Regions from separate parts of the Homo sapiens genome. Here all the other regions are linked to region 7. Evidence: promoter capture Hi-C in 16 types of primary human blood cells and fetal thymus (Javierre and others, 2016). All regions are on one chromosome and are shown on one strand. Each heading gives the region's core, a stretch centred on a gene start or on the middle of the fragment in contact. The rest is flanking DNA. Distances are from core to core; before and after follow the strand shown.

Region 1 (2,700 bases), core at 47-2,546, 160 kb before region 7:
CCCACTTAAATCCTCGGGTAGGAACTAGGGAAGTTGTACCTCTAAAAAGCTTCCCATAGATGAATGGTGAAGGGTTTATGGAAACTCTTTGTACTATTTTAGCAATGTTTTTTGTAAGTCTGAAGTTATTTCAAAATGAAAAGTTAAAAATCAAGCTGAAAGTCTGATCTGGAAGCAGCCATACTTTCAGATCCCTTCACTTTCTCCATATATCTAGGTAAAAGAATGGAGATTTATTCTCTGAAAGGATAAAAACTAATTTCTACCTGGGAGCCCTAGCTGTGATGGGGGTGGATGCCAAACTGAAAATAGGAAGATTAAGTGAAGTGAAATATACCTGCCTAGATATTGCCAGTTTGCCACCAAAATACTAGCAAAAAGATCTCTAGTTAAGATACCAGAAGAGTTGTTTCTAGGGAATTTGACCACTCTAAGAAGAAAGACTTAAAGATATGGACTTGGGAAATTTTCCAAATGAATGGCCTAGTGGGATCCTATGGTGAAGTTTATAGTCAGTTACTAAGTTGGTGCAAAACTTTAAAAAAAATTTTTTAAATGGCAAAACCACAATAACTTTTGCACCAATACTAGCTCAAATCAGCCATATATTAACATGGTCAGAGCTTCTCATTTTTTATTCCCTCTCCCCACTTTTTTTTTTTTGAGACAGAGTCTCGGTCTTGTCACCCAGGCTGAAGTATAATGGCATGATCTCGGCTCACTGCAACCTCCGCCTCCCAGGTTCAAGCCATTCTCTTGCCTCAGCCTCCCAAGTAGCTGGGATTACAGGTGCCCACCACTACACTTGGCTAATTTTTTTTTGTATTTTTAGTAGCGACAGGGTTTCACTATTTTGGCCAGGCTGGTCTCGAACTCCTGACCTCAGGTGATCTGCCTGCCTCGGCCTCCCAAAGTGCTGGGATTACAGGCGTGAGCCACCGCACCCAGCCTATTCCCCTATTCTTAAACATGAGGGAAAAAAGGTTGCCAGACATCTAAGGAACTCTACTAGGATGAAAAAGAGACTATAAAGAAATAGAAGGGCTGGGCGCAGTGGCTCACATCTGTAATCCCAGCACATTGGGAGGCCGAGGCGGATCATACAGTCAGGAGTTCGAGACCAGCCTGGCCAACATAGTGAAACCCCATCTCTACTAAAAATACAAAAATTAGCTGGGCATGGTGGCGCGCGCCTGTAGTCCCAGTTACTCGGGAAGCTGAGGCAGGAGAATCACTCGAACCCGAGAGGCGGAGGTTATGGTGAGCTGAGATCATGCCACTGCACTCCAGCCTGGGCAACAGAGCAAGACTCCGTCTCAAAAAAAAAAAAAAAAAAAAAAAGAAATAGGAGGCTCCGTCCAGTAGGTCATTCCTGAAATCCCAGCACTTTGGGAGGCTGAGGCAGGGAGGATTGCTTGAGCTCACGCATTCAAGAGCAGCCTGGGTAACATATTGAGACCCTGTTGGTACAAAAATAATTTTTTTAATTAGCGGGCCATGGTGGTAGTCCTAGTTACTCAGGAAGCTGAGGCAGGAGTACTTGAGCTCAGGAGGAGCACCTGAGCTCAGGGGTTCTAGGGTGCAGGCTGCAGTAAGCCATGATCATGCCACTGCACACCAGCCTGGGCAACAAAGCAAGACCCTGTCTTAAGAAAAAAAGAAAAATATGCAGAGCTAAAGCATATTTAGCTTTGGGGAAAAAAATGTATGTGTATTCCTGATAAAGTTGGCTACATAAAAAACTAAAACATACAGCAAAAACAAGTAAATACCAGAATGCCATATCACTCTTTATACCCATTAAGATGGCTACAATAAAAAAGATGGAAAATAAGCGTGAGAATGTAGAGAAACTGCTATCCTCATACACTGTTGTAGAAACGTAAAATGGTACAGCTACTCTGGAAAGAAGCATGACAGTTCCTCAAGAAGTTAAGTGTTGAATTACCATATGACCTAGCAATTCTATTCCTAGGTATATACTAAAAAGAACTGAAAAATGTATGTTCACACAAAAATTTGTGAATGCATGTTCAAAACAGCTGTTGTGGTCTAAATTCATGTTGAAACTTAATCATCGATATGGTGGTATTAAGAGGGTGGGGCCTTTGCAGCTGGGCAAGGTGGCTCATGCCTATAATCCCAGCACTTTGGGAGGCCAAGGCAGGTGGATCACCTGAGGTCAGGAGTTCAAGACCAGCCTGGCCAACATAGTGAAACCCTGTCTCTACAAAAAAAAAAAAAAAAAATTAGCCAGGCACGGTGTTGCACACCTGTAGTACCAACTATTCAAGTGGCTGAGGCAGGAGAATCACTTGAACCCAGGAGGCAGAGGGTGCAGTGAGCCAAGATCGTGACACTGCACTCCAGCCTGGGTGACAGAGCTAGACTCTGTCTCAAAAAAAAAAAAAAAAAAGAGATGGGGCCTTTGGGACACGATTAGGTCATGACAGCTCTGCCCTCCTACATTTGATTATCTAGAAGGTGCCATCTATGAGGCAGAGACTATGAGCCCTTACTAGACACTGAATCTGCTGGCACTTTAAGCTTGTACTTTCGAATCTGCAGAACTGTGAGCAATACATTTCTATCGTTTATATATTACCCAGTCTAAGGTATTTTGTTATAGCAGCCCAAATAGACTAAAGAGAGCAGAGTTATTCATAACAGCCAAAAAAGAAAAAATAGAAATAACTCGAA
Region 2 (2,700 bases), core at 80-2,579, 170 kb before region 7:
GATGAAAATCCTTCATCTGCATCATTCAGGTTTACAGACTCCTCTCCTCCATTTACACCCTCAGCACCTAAGAAAACAAATCAGACAGACTCAGCAATAGCTAAATTAAATAAGAAGCAGCTGTGAATAACAACACTGACCTTATCTCTTGGGCAATGTTCGCTATAGGTTGTCAATGGCCCTACTATCAACACTTCCCCTAAATAATTTAGGGGAAATCTTAATCTACACAGAATTCTACTATGCTAATAGATGTTAGTTTAGCTTTATTTAGTCCAGTTTTTGTACAACTATCCACAAACATATCTAGTATACTGTCAATATTTAGGCATGTAAAACGACTAGGTAAAATACAACAGTTTGTTAACATAAATTTTTATAATACACTATCATTCTTCTTCTGAAATGACCATATCTACCTACTGGAAAAAAAAAAAAAAAACTTTTCCCCTCATACCTTCTTTAACCCACCATAAGATGTGCAAAAGAGACCCTCTTCTAATTCCAGTTATCCAGAATTATACCAAAAACCCATTTATGCTTACAGGCCAAACTCTTTTTAACTATAATAAAATTTTATATTTACTCAGTGGTTGGTTAACTGCTTCTATATGGTTTTAGAACCTTTAACATGGAACTAGCAAATTTTTTAAATAACTCAAAACTATATTGCTTCTGTAACTTCACAGTCATATTTTGTCTATGGCCTTTTCTACTCACTGGTTTCCATATTTTGATCAATTAATGTGAAGAAAATATCAGAGAGCAGTGGTAGGGAACCAGCAGGGGTATTTAAGGATTTATATTTTCTATATGGTATGTTTTGATAATATTTTATGTAATTATTTCTATATTTTAGATTCTTAGTATTGAGATGTATTGTCATAATCACAAAATACGATAGTGTCCCATCACATTTCATTTCATGCAGAAACTGCAGTTAACAAAATAATTTATTTATTTATTTTTTTTGAGACAGTCTTGCTCTGTCACCCAGACTGGAGTGCAGTGGCACGATCTTCAGCTCACTGCAACCTCTGCCTCCCAGGTTCAAGTAATTCTCCTGCCTCAGCCTCCCGAGTAGCTGGGATTACAGGCGTGTGTCACCACGCCCAGCTAATTTTTGTATTTTTAGTAGAGATGGGATTTCACCATGTTGGCCAGGCTGGTCTCCGACTCCTGACCTCAAGTGATCTGCCCACCTCAGCCTCCCAAAGTGCTGGGATTACAGGCATGAGCCACCGCGCCCGGCCAACAACAGAATTCTTATCTTGGGTTTTTGTAGGAAGAAGAGAAGAATATATAATATACTGAGCTTGCAGTTTACAGAAAGCCAATTCTCTTACTGAAAGTATGATGAATATTCTCTTAGAAAGTAATACATTTGCTTCTTTCAATAACTCATATTGGTTTGCTACCTATTAAATACATTTTCCAGACTTCTGTAAAGTTTAATCTGAATCTACAAAACAGATATCAACATTACAGGTAAGGTAAAAATGTTAGGAAAGAATCTAAACAAATATTAGAGATATAGGTTACCTAAGCAAAATATATACAAAATATTTAAACACAATCTTTTATTTAACATAGCACCTGGAAAAATAAACTATTTACTTAGCTATATTTACTCATATGGATTATTTTCTTCCTTCTAAAGAATGAAATAAGCTATCCTTAAAGCAAAAGGCACCTTATTATATCCAGCAGTTTAATAATCTTTAATCATCATGCAAAGCCATATGAAAATGCATTTACTAAGAACAGTAGCAGCTGACACCACTTCTCTCAACCTCTTCAAAAGAACTGTATATAATGTACTTTTATAATGTACCTCAAAATAAAAACTTTAAATTATATTCATATGATACATTTTAGTAATTTACTTACAATTAGTATAAAGAACTCCAAAATGCCCAAGAAAGGATAGTTATTGGGTCAGAATTGATATTAGTGATATAAAACTGGGAGTGAACAGAAATGTATCATTAGGTATATTTATTAGGAAAGGAGACTGAGAGACTTAGTGCTAGCTTCTGAATCTTGCTACATGCAGATCTGATGCCCAAGCAATATGGCCATAAAAAAGATGATAACATAAAAGCCACCATGCAAGAGAATCTACTGATATTTTATATACTAAGAAATGCTTAGTATATATAATGGAATACTGATTGTACTTTAATCACAGGTATTATCTTCAGTTTAGTAATAATTTTTAAAAACATTTATTTATTTTTATTATTTTTTTTTGAGACAAGGTCTCACTCTGTTGTATAGGCTGGAGTGCAGTGGCACGATCACAGCCCACTGTAGCCTCAACCTCCCAGGCTCAAGTGATCCTCCCACCTCAGCCTCTTAAGCAGCTGGGACTACAGGCATCTGCCACCATGCTTGGCTAATTTTTGTATATTTTGTAGAGATGGGGTTTTGCCATGTTGCCCAGGCTGGTGTCAAACTCCTGGGCTTAAGCAATCCACCTGCCTGGGCCTCCCAAAGTGCTGATATTATAGGCATGAGCCATCGTGCCTGGCCAGTTTAGTAATAATCTTAACTCCAGCTTTAAAAGTCATAAATAGAATGTACTTGACAATCAGGAGAAAAGTAAGTGATGGGCTTATATTGTCCCTTCAATTTCAACATGTAATAAACCCAATTTTAATTGTAAAATTATTTAAAGCCATCATAGCAGAAAACTAG
Region 3 (2,850 bases), core at 180-2,679, 210 kb after region 7:
AACTAATGAAAAACAGAAAAATAAAACTTACTATTAGCCTAACTCAAATTTAATATAGTGAAACTAACAATAGAAGTCAACAGGATGCTTAAAGCCCCAAATCTTAAACCTCATCAGAAGGTTTTTTGGACTTAAACACATCCACTAGTAGTCATTTGTGAAAGAAAACACAATTAAAGATGATGAGAATAGCACTAAATTTGATATCAAAGTAGAGTCTCAAGCTTCATTTCTCACAAGATGGTCATAATTCTAAATGGATACTGAGTTTTTTTAAAAAAACAGTTTCTTTTTTTTTTCCAAGATGGCAGATTAGAGTCTTTCAGTGTGCCTTGGCTCCTTGGAAATAGCAAGATAGTGTGTAAAGATCATCTCTGTGGGTTTTTATCCAAAAAGGAAAATGGGAATCCACTAGAATTGTGAAGGACACCCCAGATGCCAGGGAGGAGAATGTGGACAAACAGCCCCAGTGATGGCATGCAGCTGATAAAAATGAGTGAAGCCCTAGTACATGGGAGAGGCAGACAGCCTCCCTCTATGACTCACCTTTCCACTTGGGATCCAGGCAACCCAGGCTGAGGGAGAGCACTTTGTTTCTCGCAAGCTCTGGAGCTAACTTGGGGAAGCGGCTTGGAAACACTGTGAGGAAAAGACATAGAGAAAAGCTGCAAACATTTTCCCAGACTCAGGACTGAAAGCAGGGTGCCATTTTTAATCCAGGCATTCTTTGGTGACCTAGCAGTGTGGCCACACAGGCATTTTAGTCTTGGGTCAGCAATTGGAGCACCTGCTCTGGCTTAGGGTAGGAGTCTCCATAGCCAGAACTGTGCAAAGAGCCTCAGTAGTAGGTGCAGGGATTGTGCTCTCCCGCTTTGCAGGCCTGAGGTGGGAGGAGAGCTGCTACAGCTGCAGTTTCTCCTGTGTGATGAGACTTGCAGCCAGGGCTAGCTTGGTAACCTGGAACTAGTCTGCATATGTCATTGCAGGGTGACCCAGCCTGCTCCCCTGAGATTGTGGTGCAGCAGAGCCCTCTGCTCCACCCTCAGGCAGAAATCCAGGCATTTGGAGCACTTGCTTGTCTGGACCAGCAGCCTGAGCTGCCTCACCCTTCATGGACATAGATTGTGGTACAGCGTGGCTCTCTCTGCTCCACACCCAGGCAGATCTCCAGGTATCTGGAGCACCCCCTTCCTTGGATCAGCAGCCTGAGTTGTCCTACCTTTCCTGTGTATAGATTGTGGTGCAAGGGTGCCCTCTCCACTCCAACTCTAGGCAGATCTCCAGGCATTTGGAGCACCTGCTCACATGGACTAGCAGCCTGAGTGCCCTACCTTTCCTGTGCAGAGATCTGGGTGTGGGAAAGCCCTCTCCATTTTGCACCCCGGCAGATCTCTAGGCATTAGGTGCACTTGCTCATCTGGTTCAGCAGCCTGAGCCGCTGCCCCTCCCCATTCCAAGACATAGATCATGGTGCAGCAAGGCCCTCTCTGCTCCATGACCAGGCAGATCATCAGGCATTCGGAGCACCCATTTTCCTCGATCAGCAGTCTGAGTCACCCAAACCCTCCTACGCAGAGGTCTTGGTATGGGGGGCCCTCTCTCCTCCATGCTCAGGCAGATCTCTAGGCATTTAGAGCACTCACTTGCCTGGAACAGCAGCCTGAGCACCTCACCCTTCCTGTGCATAGATCCTGGTGCAGTGGGGCTCCATGCCTAGATAGAGCTCCAGGCATCTGGAGCAGTCACTCTACTGGATTAGTTTAAGCCGCCCCCATCCCTTTGCAGGGAACTTGGGGTCGAGGAAATTTCCCAAGCATCTCTGGGTGCTTGGTAGTGGCTACCCACTGCATTCTCCCTCAGTGCTGGTACTTGTACCTGCCATCAGGGGACCTGTAGTTGGACCTGCCTAGTCCAGCTCTGCTCATTTTGGCCCCTCCCTCCCTGTGTCTGAGCAGGGAGCTCAGACCACTATGCACCCCATGAATCAGCTCATTGCCTGAGGTAACAGAGCTTTTCCCCATAAACAAGGATCAAGTATATACTCAGTCACATTGGCCATAGCAGGCTCTTACCTATTAGCACCATCTACTGGTTTGTAGGTTGAACTGCACAGCCCAGTATAAAACCTGCTGACAGAAGTGAATAGGGTTATAGAAGCAAAGCCAAAAGACCCTACCCAGCATTCTTTATAGTCACACTCCCTAGAGAGGGGGGAAAAGGGAAAGGGAAAGAAAAAAAACCCCAATAATATTATAGGGACAGAAGGAAAAATAAATAATCCTAACCTATATGAAAATACTATAAAATTAAAATGCCAGCATCTCCAGATGAGAAGGAATCAGTGCGAGAATTCTGGCACCATGAAAAATCTCAATATAGTGACACCACCAAAGGATCAAACTTGCTCTCCAGCAATGGTCTATAGCCAAAATAGAAACTCAGAAAGAACGGATAAATAATTCAAAGCATGGATTACAAGGAAGATCAATGAGATCCAAGTCAAGGTTAAAAATCAACAACACAAAACTTCTAAAGCAATCCAGGAAATGAAGCAAGAGATAAACATCTTATAAAGAAATCAATCAGAGCTTCTGAAGTTGAAAAACTCACTCAGGGAATTTCAAAATACAATTGAAAGCTTTATCAATAGTCTGGACCTAGCAGAAGAAAGAATTTCAGAGCTTGAAGACTGATCTTTTGAGCTAACTCAGTTACACAAAAATAAGGAAAAAATAATTTTTAAAGGTGAACAAAGGCTTTGAGAAATATGGGATTATGTAAAACAACCAAACCTGTGAATTACTGGCATTCCTGAGAAGGAAAAAAGTGAACAACCTGGAAAACATATTT
Region 4 (2,700 bases), core at 39-2,538, 140 kb before region 7:
AGACCAGTCAGACAATTTGTCAAAGGTTGGTGAAGTTAATGGTGAAATAAGACACTAAATTCAGGTCTTCTGACATCAAGTTGATGTTTCCACTCTACCGCACTTCTTATATTAGAATGGAGGTATAGATTGTTTAATCACAAAACAGTGTATTCTATGTAGTGCCAATAATGAACAAGTAATAAACTTTTGGAAACTGTCAGTTGCTGGCATCTTTCTTAAATATTGAGAGCAATATTCAGTTCTTTAGAAGTAAAAAACTGTTGCTCTCACAAATTTTGTTTACTAAAAATTTATACTCATGTTTCAAACTCAATCTCCTCTTTAGTAAAAAACTCTCCAAAGATTGCCTTCTCTAAACTTTATGGGCCATGGTACAATTATGATGAATTTCTTCTATGAAGACCTTAAACTCCTCTTTCTCAGTAGCAACAGGTACACTGGCATGTGGGACACTATATTTTAACTAAGCACAGTGAAGAAATACAGGGTTACCAGCATTATTACTCTGTGTTTTTTGTAAGCGAATGGGGGGTAGATGTTGGCAATCCAGTAAGTTTTAATCAGATACTACTACAAAGTAAGACCGTTAAAAACTCGCTGGTCAGGTGTGGTAGCTCACGCCTGTAATTCCGGCACTTTGGGAGGCCAAGGCAGGCTGATGGCTCGAGACCAGGAGTTTCAGACCAGCCTGCACAATGTGGCAAAACCTCACCTCTACAAAAAATACAAAAATTAGCCAGGTGTGGTGGCACGCACCTGGGTAGTCCCAGCTATTTTTGGGGGGCTGAGGCAGAAGAATTGCTTGAGCCCAGGAGGTTCAGTCTACAGTGAGCTGTGTTCAAGTCACCGCACTCCAGCCTGGGTGACAAAGTGAGGCCCTGTCTTAAAAAAAAAAAAGAAAAATTGCCAATGCTATGTGTTAAAATCTTTAATTGTGGCCAGGCTCAATAGCTCATGCCTGTAATCCCAGCACTTTGGGAAGCCAAGGTGGGAGGATCGCTTGAGCCCAGGAGTTCAAGGCCAGCCTTGAACACCGTGAGACTCTGTCTTTAGAAAATAAAAAATAAAATTAGCAGGGTGTGGTAGCATGTGCCTGTAGCTAATTGAGAAGGTGAGTTTGGAGGATCACATGAGTCCAGGAGTTTGAGGTTACAGTGAGCTATAATGGTGCCACTGTACTCCAGCATGGGAGAGAGAGTGAGACCCTGGCTCAGAAAAAAACAAACAAACAAACAATAAAAAAACTTTAATTTGAAGCATATGTCTCATAGCAAGCACCATGTTCTCAAATTCTTAATATAAATGATTCTGACCTCCCTTAAATGGCACCACCACCCACATCAAAAAGTATTAAAAATCATCATCCTTGGGTTAGAAAAAATCATAACTGACACCATTCCCAAATTTAGCAAACACTGTTTTGACATGATAATTACTAAGAGACATGATATTTGATGAACACACTGAGAGTATTTGGATGGAATAATGAACAAGCCTAACTTGAGTGGGTTAAAGAATGTGAGGTGAAGAAATGGAGACAAGTAGACAGAGGCTATGAATAAGCAATATTTTATGAAGTTCATCTGTGAATAGGGACAGAGAAATGGGGTAGATAATATAATAGGAGGTAAGCTGAAATAAAGTTTTTAGAGAATAGAATATGGTTGTTTATCATATTCCACTCATCAGGGAAAGAAAAAAAGATCAGTGATGGAAGAGAGAAGGAATAATTGCAGGACCAGAGTCCTTAAGGTAGCTAGAGAAGACAGAATCCAGGCCTAAGTAGAACAGATGGCTTTTCATACAACCTGAGATATTTCACCCACTAAACACCAGAAAAGGCAAGAGAGTGCTGTAGAATGGTAGATTTGAATCTGAAAATATGAAAGTTTCCAAATATTTTCTTTTTTCTCTGAGATGGAGTCTTGGCTTTGTTGCCAGGCTGGAGTGCAGTGATGCAATCTCGGCTCACTGCAACCTCCGCCTCCCAAGTTCAAGCGATTCTCCTGCCTTAGCCTCCTGAGTAACTGGGACTACAGGCGTGCACCACCACACCCAGCTAATTTTTGGTATTTTTAGTAGAGACGGGGTTTCATCATGTTGGCCAGGATGGTCTCAATCTCTTGACCTCATGATCCACTCCGCTCCGCCTCCCAAAGTGCTGAGATTACAGGCGTGAGACACTGCGCCGGCAACTATTTTAAGTTTAATTCATACTAAATATGGCACATGACAATTTTCTAAAATAATTTCTTGTAACCTAAATAGTATGTTTGTTTCTTTCAGAATATAACAAAATCAGGATTAAAAGGGACCTCCTTCTATGACTAAAGTCCAGAATTGTTTTGAAATTCTATAGAATTTATCATTCTATTTTTCTGAAGTCTGAACACATGGTTAGAGCCTTCTAACCTGACAGGAGACAGGAGAGAAATTCAGACCTCCTCTAGCAACTGATTGATTATAATGAATGCTGGACCTTGAGCTCGCATCCCTCAAGCTGTAATTTTTCCATTTCTAGCCATGAAACCCCCAAAGTCCCACACATTAATATTACGAAATATGACAACAGAAAGTAATGAGAATAGCTTTTTTAATGTAATAGCTTCTAAAGTATTAAACAAAAAAATAGGAAAGGGATACTTCTTATACACTTGTGAGCCCTAATGAAAATGTCATTTTAGAATCTCATTTTGT
Region 5 (2,739 bases), core at 104-2,603, 190 kb before region 7:
AATTCTGCAGCACCAAGTGTTAGCATTGCACCAAGTGGTAGCAACACACTCTCCTTTGAAAACAAATAAAAGATTTGCTGTAATTTTTAAAAACATAATCCTTTGAAAAAGAAGGTTGGATAGATTAGTGGTTAAACACCAATTTTAATATTGGAGAAACCTGAGTTCCAATCTCCACTCCATACTTTATAACTGTGTGACTTTGTCCAAAGTCCTGACGATTAAATGAAATGATGTGCCTGATATATAAAAGAGCATCACTGAATGCTCCCAATTATCGGTATTTTTACTTTAACCTTTTTCTTTTTTAGCTCCTTACTGCAGTGCACTGAGATATTTTTACTTTAAACTTCAACTTAACCATGCAGATCTCTTGTACATCTCTAACTCATTCAACATCTAACAGAAAAACTGCTCAATAAGTGATGATGTCCGTTTAACGTGCAGTGCCCTTATATAACGGTGTAGGGCCGTGCTATTTTTCTTCAGATTGCAATTTAACTGCGGGAAAGTGTAATGATTCTATTAGGATTTCAATTGTAAAATGAAAAGTAACGTCTCAACATCTTTTTAATTAAAAAGCTCTACCAAAAGAGCCTGGCTTATCAACATTTTACAGCCAAGCATGGCTCCAAGGTGACCGATCAGTTAGCTGGCAGGACACATTGGTGCCTCCAGGCTGGGATGACATCAAAGGTTCTAGCTACAGTGGTTCTGGGACGCGATCTCTTCCTCTTCATACCTCACAGGGCACTTTACCACTGTCGTTACACATCTTCACAGTTCTCCTTTTCCAACCAGAGGGCTTCGTAAGCTGGGAATCAGGTAGGTTAGTATCAGGCGTCCCTTGCACAAAAGGCCTATAACTGCGGGGCAGACTAACGAAAGGTCCTCCCAGAGTGAGCCTCTCACCTCAAGTCTTAAAGGACTTTGGCCTGCGCCTCCAGCCTCTGGCCAGTTGGCTGCGCTCCACCAGTAAGGGTTCTCGAGCCCCCGGGCAGCCTGCGGGGGGCAGCGAGGCGCAAAGACCATGCCCCAAGTGCCGAGGGAAAGTCCTGAGATGCGCGACTTGGGACGCTAGGGGCCAAGCTCCGACGCGGGGCTGGGTGCACCTGGACGCACCTCACACGCCGCGAGCTAAGCAGAAAAGGGAGGCAGGCTGCCCCGACACCCCACTACTCACCGCTAGGTTTCCGTCTGGCGCCGATCCGGCTGCGTCACGCCGGCCGAACGACACCCCGCTGAGTCGCCGCCGCAGGGAAGGTACCTTCGGCCCCAACGGGAAAAGCCAATTTCCAGTAATTCGCGCCCGACCACCGGGGAGGTAAGGAGCACCGGAGGCCAGCTGGGGGATGGGAAGCCTGCGTGCGGCACACCGAATCTCCCGCCCTGTTCAGGGGGCGGTGCCCGAGGAAGCCAATAGGAAGAGGAGTCGGCCAAGAGCGACGGCTCTGCCGTCCAGTCGGCGCCGGCCATTCGGCCCCGCCCATCAGGAAACCTGAGGAAAACGGATTCTTGGGCCCTGAGTTGTGGGCCTTACCTTTCCTTTCTTCTTTCCGTTTCCGGGGAAGGGAAAAGGAAGTGTTGTTTGGATCTGAGGAAGTTTGCACAGTAGCTGGCTGAGTGGTAGCTGTTTGTCTTGTAGCAATCTTTAAAAAGTGTTCTTTGGGGTCGGGCGCAGTGTCTCACGCCTCTAATCCCAGCACCTTGGGAGGCCGAGGCGGGCGAATCACCTGAGGTCGGGAGCTCGAGACCAGTCTGACCGACATGGAGAAACCCCGTCTCTCCTAAAAATACAAAATTAGCCGGGCGTGGTGGCGCATGCCTGTAATACTAGCTACTCGGGAGGCTGAGGCAGGAGAAACGCTTGAACCCGGGAGGCGGACGTTGCAGTGAGCCGAGATCGAGCCATTGCATTCCAGCCTGGGCAACAAGAGCGAAACTCCGTCTCAAAAAAAAAAAAAAAAAAAAAAAAAAGTGTTCATTGGTTTCCCAGCTACCTTTTGAAGAAAAAGGTAATGGAAATTGATTCGCATTTCTTTTTTAAAGATTTTCTTCATTTGGCGTGAAAGGTAGGATCTTGTACATCTCCAGGGTTTGGGGTAGGGAGAAGAAGAGACGTTAGGAGAAGCACTGAATATGGAGATGGGATCGGACGGCTAGTGGGATGAAGAGGCTGGGGAAATAGAATGAATAGACAGAGAAAATGATTGACTTCAACTATCCAAAATATAAAAAAGACAAGACAGAGAAAATGAGGAAGAAAAGGAATGAACCTGGATGGGATCCATACAGTATTAAGAACAGGGTATTGTTTCATTTGGATTCACTTACTCAAAACAAAACTACAGAGTACTCTGCGAACAGAAGATAAGTATTCATTATCGAGCGAGACAACTACGATCTCTGCATTCACTGTAGTTACCTAGCACGTGAAGATATTGAACGGACAATATTGAGAAAAATACCATGATATGGGAAGTGCATTGGAGCACATGGTAGGAGTAGCTAATTAAAAGCCCAGAAGGAGTCAGGAACAATTTTCTAGGAGGAAGAGATGTTTAAACTGAAACCCCTGTGTTGAATAGATTTAAAACAGGCCAAGAGGGGTAAAATTTTCCAGGTAGAAGGTCCAAATCCGTGTAACAGCTGTGTAAAATGCCAAGCATTGGGTCTGTTATTATGAAGGGCTTAGTTGGCCCTTAGGGCACTGGTCAGATTTGTATTGAAAGATCTTTG
Region 6 (2,711 bases), core at 171-2,670, 240 kb before region 7:
CTTTACAAAAGAATGAGAAAGGATTAAATAAAAATGAATCCCCAAGTTTTTCATTTTTGCCACTTCCATATCTAAATCAGTAACTCACAATCTAATTTCATTTTCAACCAACATCTGAACCTTTATTTTCAATTAAGCATAAATTAAAATCTTAGCACTACCAATGCATTCTTTTTAAAAAATTAGTAATGTTTTAACATTTTCTTCTACAGGATTATCAGAAAGTCTATAAATTAAGTTCATAAAATAAATGTTGCGATATTACAAGAAGAGAAAGAGACCAAAATAATAGTTGGGTCTTTTCCCTCCATTTAACTTTAGACTAAAACATCCTCATTTAGTATCTGAATTTTTATTTCCAAAAATTATGTTCTAAATTAGATTGAGAACATCTTTTTGGCAACCTGTGTTTTTAAACATGTAAAAGGGGAAAAAGCGTACTAAAAACAGTAAAAATTTTCTGATTTATATTAATAGAATTTGTCTTGTAAGACTGATATCTCTAGAAGGAAAAATAGTAACAATTAACTTACTGAGAGGAGCATTGAGGTGGTCAATGGATGCTATAAGGTAAATGTTATGCAAAGATGACAACTGACCAATGATTTGCTGGCTCTTCTCTCCTCTCAACATCTGGCTATCCAAATTGTGGATGAGAAGGAAGAGTTCTAAAGAAGAATCTAAAAAGAAAAGAAATCCAATTATTATTATTATTATTTTTAGAGGGTCTCACTCTGTTGCCTAGGCTAGAGTGCAGTGGTACAATCATAGCTCACTGCAGCCTCCAACTCCTGGACTCAAGCAATCCTCCCACCTCAGCCTCTCGATTACCTGGAACTAGGCGCACACCACCATGCCTGGCTAATTGTTTTTTTGGTAGAGACGGGGTCTCACTAAGTTGCCCAGGTTGGTCTTGAACTCCTGGACTCAACTTGGCCTCCCAAAGTGCTAGGATCACAGACGTGAACCACCATGTCCAGCTGCAATTATTATTTTTAGTGATATTTCAGTGATTATTTCCTCTACCATACACAATGCCTAGGTATTAAAAAATAAAGTAGTATAGGATAAAATAATGATTGCTTAGGGGTATGTAATTTATTTGAGAAGATATGTCATTTACTCATAAAATAGACATGATTAGCACTGAAGTCAGGCCCTACAGAAAGCAGCTTTTTGTTTTGTTTTGTTTTTTAAGACAAGTTCTGGCTCTGTTGTCCAGGCTAGAGTGCAGTGGGGTGATCTCAGCTCACTGCAACCCTGACATCCAGGGCTCAAGCCATCCTTCCACTTCAGCCTCCCGAGTAGCTGGGACTATAGGCGTGTACCACCACACCTAGCTGATTTTTATATTTTTTGTAGAGATGGGGTTTCACCATGTTGCCCAGGCTGGTCTAGAACTCGTGAGCTCAAGTGATCTGCCCGCCTCGGCCTCCCAAAGTGGTGGGATTACATGTGTGAGCCGCCGTGCTCAGCCTAAAGAAAGCAGCTTTAATAAGGCATGGGAAATAGGCAAGATGTATACAATAGATTGGAGGTGAATCTGTGCATGTTTTATTACACTGTGGGAGTGGAGGGATACCAAAAAAACCAAAGGATTTCTCAGAAAGCATTATATATAATGCTCTCAGAGATTATATAGAAAACCCGGATTATCACAAAAGCCAAAGGAGACCAAAAAAGGAGTGGGTGGGGGGTGGGGGTTAGGATACTGCTCAAGGCATCAGGAAGTTCAGATAAATTATAAAAGTCAGTGAAGGAGGAATTTAGAGGATGGAGCTGTTGACACTATCAAATACAGCAGAGATCAAGATAAAGGATGAGCCAAGGTCACTGGGCTTGGTAAGAAGAAAGTTACAGGTGATCAAGCATACAGTTCTGATAGCACAGAGGAAAGACATTAGAATGAAATAGGTAAAAAAAAAAAAAAAAAAAATTGAAGGCAGGACATGTCTTCCAAAATACTGAAACCGTATGAAACAGAAAAATAAAATAGTGTGAAAGGGCAGCAGAATCAGGTAACTTTTATTTTTAATGTATATTTAAAAGCCACAGGTATTGATAAGTCTCTCTGGAGACTTGGCATACGTGATAGAGTATAAGTCTTTCAGAGAGTGAGTTAATTTCTCTTCTACTCGGGGGTAGATGGGTAAGAGAGACAATACAGTGACAAAGATTCTGAGATGACACATTGTGAAAATCCCAGGTTCCCTGAAATCTAGACGTCATCATATTTAACAGTATCAAAACCAAAAACACCCAAAACCAAACGTATGTATACACACAGACGCACACAAATATAAAGTGACTTAGGCATCTATTTTAATGAGCATACGAACAATACTGGGCTCTTACAAGGATCTGTGGTAAGGGAATAAAAAGCAATGCTTCTGTTATTCTTTAAGTAGGAGAACTTATGTTGAAAACTAAAGACAATTCAGAAAAACAAGGCAAAATTATTATAGGAATAAATATTGCAGCAATTGATTTTTAATTAAATAATAAGGTTGAAAGAACTGAAAACAAACCAAACAGATTTGTTTCTCTTACAATAACCTGCTAGTAATTCACTATATGCCCACATAATCAATGAATAAGATATGTTCACATATGCAGTAGTTTTAGGGTTCTGGGAAATATATACTTGACTCTCATTACATTAAGTTCTATGCTGCTGCAAATCCTGAATTATTGAATACTGAACCACTGTT
Region 7 (2,700 bases), core at 198-2,697:
TGACCTCAGAACTCCCTTTTTCACTAAGAATGTTTTGCCCATCTTATGTTTTACCCATGTGCTCTATAGCAGTTAACACTGGGCTTATTAAAGGTACTCAATATGTGATTGTAAATTAACTGGTGAAGCATTCCCTCATTCTTGTTTATTTTATACATTTATTTAATGAAGCCCTTTTCATAGAAATTGTCAAGATAAATGTATCCTCATTTAGATCAAAACAAATTCTAAATTAATGAAGTCATGACATTTTACTGTATTTTGGTTTTTTTGGTTTATCTGTGAAGTCCTCAAACCTGTGAGTAGTGCTGACCCTAGCCTTGAATGAACAGCCCTGTACTAACTGCAAGGCCAGAAGAACCCCTGCCCTTCCCCTCCCCACCCCCCCACATCATTTCCAGAAGTTCTAAAGAACAGTTGAAATTTACGGAGATCAGACTGGGTTGAGTGTGGGATTTCCAGGGTGGGTTCTAGAAGGAGAAGTGGGTCTTCTGTAGTTTGTTGAAATTTTATTTTCCAAACCCAGCCCCCAAGTTTTTCTTCCTCTATTTATGTGCAAGGACAAAACAGTTACTGTCCTACCTACATAGGATATGGACTCTGTCTGCTCTGAGCCCATTTTAGTTTAGAATATAGAGACCTCCCTCCAGGTCCTAAGAGAGAGATTCCATGAGAGATGTGCAACACCATAAGGTTGGTGATTTGTACTTTGAAATGGCTGCCTTTATTTCCTTTAAAGTCAATATCTTATATTTGAATAAACACAGTTTGCAAAGCATCTTTACAGAAATCTCATTGGATCCTCACGGTCACCTTTTTTCTGAGACAGAGTCTCACTCTTTCACCCAGGCTGGAGTGCAGTGGAGCGATCTTGGCTCCTCCACTTCCTGGGCTCGAGTGATCCTCCTTCCTTAGCCTCCCAAGTAGCTGGGACCACAGATGCGTGCCACCATGCCCAGCCAATTTTTGTATTTTTGGTAGAGATGGGGTTTCGCCATGTTGCCCAGGCTGGTCTCAAACTCTGCAGCTCAAGCAATCCACCCGCCTTGGCCTCCCAAAGTGCTGGGATTACAGGTATGAGCCACTGTACCCTGCCCTCACAGTCACCTTTTGAAGAACCTCCTGCTCAAGAGATCCTCCTGCCTCAGCCTCCTGAGTAGCTGTGATGACTACAGGCTTGTACTACCATGCCTGGCTAGTTTTTTTATTTTTTGTAGAGACGGGGTTCCCTGTGATGCCCAGGGTGGTCTCAAACTCCTGAGCTCAAGCCATCCTCCCACCTCAGCCTCCCAAAGTGCTGGGATTGTAGGTGTGAGCCACTGCACCTGGCCAAGCATTAGTTTTAATCTTGTTTTATAGATGAATAAACTGGGGCTGACTCAAACTGACTCAAAGTCACACTGTCATTACCTTTTTGATCCTGTACGTTAGACTGGGCTGTATGCATGTTCTTGCTGGCGCAATAAAGTTGCAAGTGCCAGCTAACAGCCCTTCCCACTCCACCTCACCACCTCATAGAGGAAAATTGTGACGTTAATGGGAAATGTCAGCGGTAATGTCTTCAGGCTGGGCCTGTGGAGTGACTCCCTTGCCACAGGATATTTAAGCAATGCTGTGTCTTGTCTGAGGCTCAGACCTGCTATTCTTATTGGCACTTGGGACCTGCATGGTTTTTGGCTTCACCTCCAGCTTTAGCCATTTTTCTTCTGTTCTTTTAGGTAAGGATTTTCTGCCCCAGACCTCAGATTCCCATTTCCTTCCTAGCTTCTCTGCTGTTATAGCTCAGTCTCTTCCAAGACCATGCAAGATTCAGACCCTAGTAGGAGGAGATGGAGGAACTAGGACTTAAACCCACATCTTGTGATTCCAAGGCTGGTTCCTCTTTTGCCCTGCACCACACAGCTGTCTGCTCACAGTCATGTGACAGGGGCTTCCCCAGCCAGAACCTCCAGGGAGCACAAATAAAGGAAAGAGCTGGAAGGCACAGTACAGCATTTGTTCTGTCCAAGCCTTACATATCAGCATGGGCAGGGAGAATGTGGTGAAGTTTTCTTTCAAGGACTTTGTTTGATAAGGAAGGACATTTATCAGTGAAGAGAGGTTTTGAGGGAAGTGAACCAATCTTGAGATAAGTACACAAAAGAGCTTTGAGTCTGGTGTTTCCCTGTTTGCTTCTGCCCCCTGGAGGAGCAAATACTCCATGATTAGAGACGTGTGAGTCCTTTGGAATAGAATAGCAGTGATGGAACTGGAGTCCTAGTCCAGGTTCTCTCCTTGTTCAGCCTGGATTCAGCACTGGGTATCGAAACAAGCCTGCACCCTCAGAGGAGATGGCTAGGGGACAGTGCGTCCAGGCCTCTTCTACCACACAGAGTTTTCTTTTTTTTATAAAGGGTATACACATTTAAAATTTAATGATACTCCCAAATTGCTCTTCAAAAAGGCTGTGCAAAATTACAGTCCTGATAACAGCTACCCAGAGATCCTGTAACGGCATTTGCCCTCATCATTATTATTATTATTATTATTATTATTATTATTATTTGAATTTGAGACGGAGTTCTGCTCTGTTGCCCAGGCTGGAGTGCAGTGGCGCAATCTTGGCTCACTGCAACCTCTGCCTCCCGGGTTCAAGCAATTCTCCTGTCTCAGCCTCCCTAGTAGCTGGGATTACAGGTGAGCACCACCACGCCTGGCTAA

Evidence for each region. Contacts are between HindIII fragments. The CHiCAGO score rates a contact against its expected background, and 5 or more counts as called.
Region 1: a fragment that was not itself captured here is called in contact with the fragment with the promoter of CFLAR-AS1 in region 7 in 11 of 17 cell types (neutrophils, erythroblasts, activated CD4 T cells and 8 more); the score reaches 14.7 in neutrophils.
Region 2: a contact is called between a fragment that was not itself captured here and the fragment with the promoter of CFLAR-AS1 in region 7, in 6 of 17 cell types (neutrophils, erythroblasts, activated CD4 T cells and 3 more). The highest score is 13.0, in neutrophils.
Region 3: a contact is called between a fragment that was not itself captured here and the fragment with the promoter of CFLAR-AS1 in region 7, in 4 of 17 cell types (neutrophils, activated CD4 T cells, non-activated CD4 T cells and 1 more). The highest score is 11.5, in neutrophils.
Region 4: a contact is called between a fragment that was not itself captured here and the fragment with the promoter of CFLAR-AS1 in region 7, in 6 of 17 cell types (neutrophils, erythroblasts, activated CD4 T cells and 3 more). The highest score is 12.3, in neutrophils.
Region 5: a contact is called between the fragment with the promoter of ORC2 here and the fragment with the promoter of CFLAR-AS1 in region 7, in 14 of 17 cell types (neutrophils, megakaryocytes, erythroblasts and 11 more). The highest score is 16.0, in neutrophils.
Region 6: a fragment that was not itself captured here is called in contact with the fragment with the promoter of CFLAR-AS1 in region 7 in 15 of 17 cell types (erythroblasts, neutrophils, megakaryocytes and 12 more); the score reaches 20.6 in erythroblasts.

The regions. Positions count from the first base shown.
Region 1 is chr2:200,998,740-201,001,439 of GRCh38, forward strand. The region is part of intron 7 of HYCC2 (hyccin PI4KA lipid kinase complex subunit 2); the gene reads right to left. The region is part of intron 1 of LOC105373835 (a long non-coding RNA gene); the gene reads left to right. Among named protein-coding and RNA genes, the nearest start is that of ORC2, 36 kb to the left of the region's middle. The HindIII fragment of the contact is 2,498 bases long and covers 48-2,545 here.
Region 2 is chr2:200,981,805-200,984,504 of GRCh38, forward strand. It overlaps HYCC2 (hyccin PI4KA lipid kinase complex subunit 2), which reads right to left. Exons shown (of 13, transcript NM_001321623.1): 13 at 1-67. The region is part of intron 1 of LOC105373835 (a long non-coding RNA gene); the gene reads left to right. Among named protein-coding and RNA genes, the nearest start is that of ORC2, 19 kb to the left of the region's middle. The HindIII fragment of the contact is 2,788 bases long and covers 1-2,700 here.
Region 3 is chr2:201,362,048-201,364,897 of GRCh38, forward strand. It overlaps a transcript of FLACC1 not described here. Among named protein-coding and RNA genes, the nearest start is that of FLACC1, 6.1 kb to the left of the region's middle. RefSeq lists an enhancer at 1,820-1,869. The HindIII fragment of the contact is 2,414 bases long and covers 223-2,636 here.
Region 4 is chr2:201,018,869-201,021,568 of GRCh38, forward strand. The region is part of intron 4 of HYCC2 (hyccin PI4KA lipid kinase complex subunit 2); the gene reads right to left. LOC105373835 (a long non-coding RNA gene) reads left to right here. Exons shown (of 3, transcript NR_187976.1): 3 at 1-202. Among named protein-coding and RNA genes, the nearest start is that of HYCC2, 51 kb to the right of the region's middle. The HindIII fragment of the contact is 3,143 bases long and covers 1-2,700 here.
Region 5 is chr2:200,962,307-200,965,045 of GRCh38, forward strand. ORC2 (origin recognition complex subunit 2) reads right to left here and starts at 1,354. Exons shown (of 18, transcript NM_006190.5): 1 at 1,184-1,354. LOC105373835 (a long non-coding RNA gene) reads left to right here and starts at 1,126. Exons shown (of 3, transcript NR_187976.1): 1 at 1,126-1,324. RefSeq lists an enhancer at 587-656 and a silencer at 1,365-1,763. The HindIII fragment of the contact is 10,169 bases long and covers 1-2,739 here.
Region 6 is chr2:200,920,460-200,923,170 of GRCh38, forward strand. It overlaps ORC2 (origin recognition complex subunit 2), which reads right to left. Exons shown (of 18, transcript NM_006190.5): 14 at 534-680. Among named protein-coding and RNA genes, the nearest start is that of NIF3L1, 32 kb to the left of the region's middle. The HindIII fragment of the contact is 5,097 bases long and covers 1-2,711 here.
Region 7 is chr2:201,156,345-201,159,044 of GRCh38, forward strand. It overlaps CFLAR-AS1 (CFLAR antisense RNA 1), which reads right to left and starts at 1,448. Exons shown (of 7, transcript NR_040030.1): 1 at 1,411-1,448. The region is part of intron 8 of CFLAR (CASP8 and FADD like apoptosis regulator); the gene reads left to right. RefSeq lists enhancers at 1,747-1,826, 1,847-2,176. The HindIII fragment of the contact is 4,248 bases long and covers 1-2,700 here.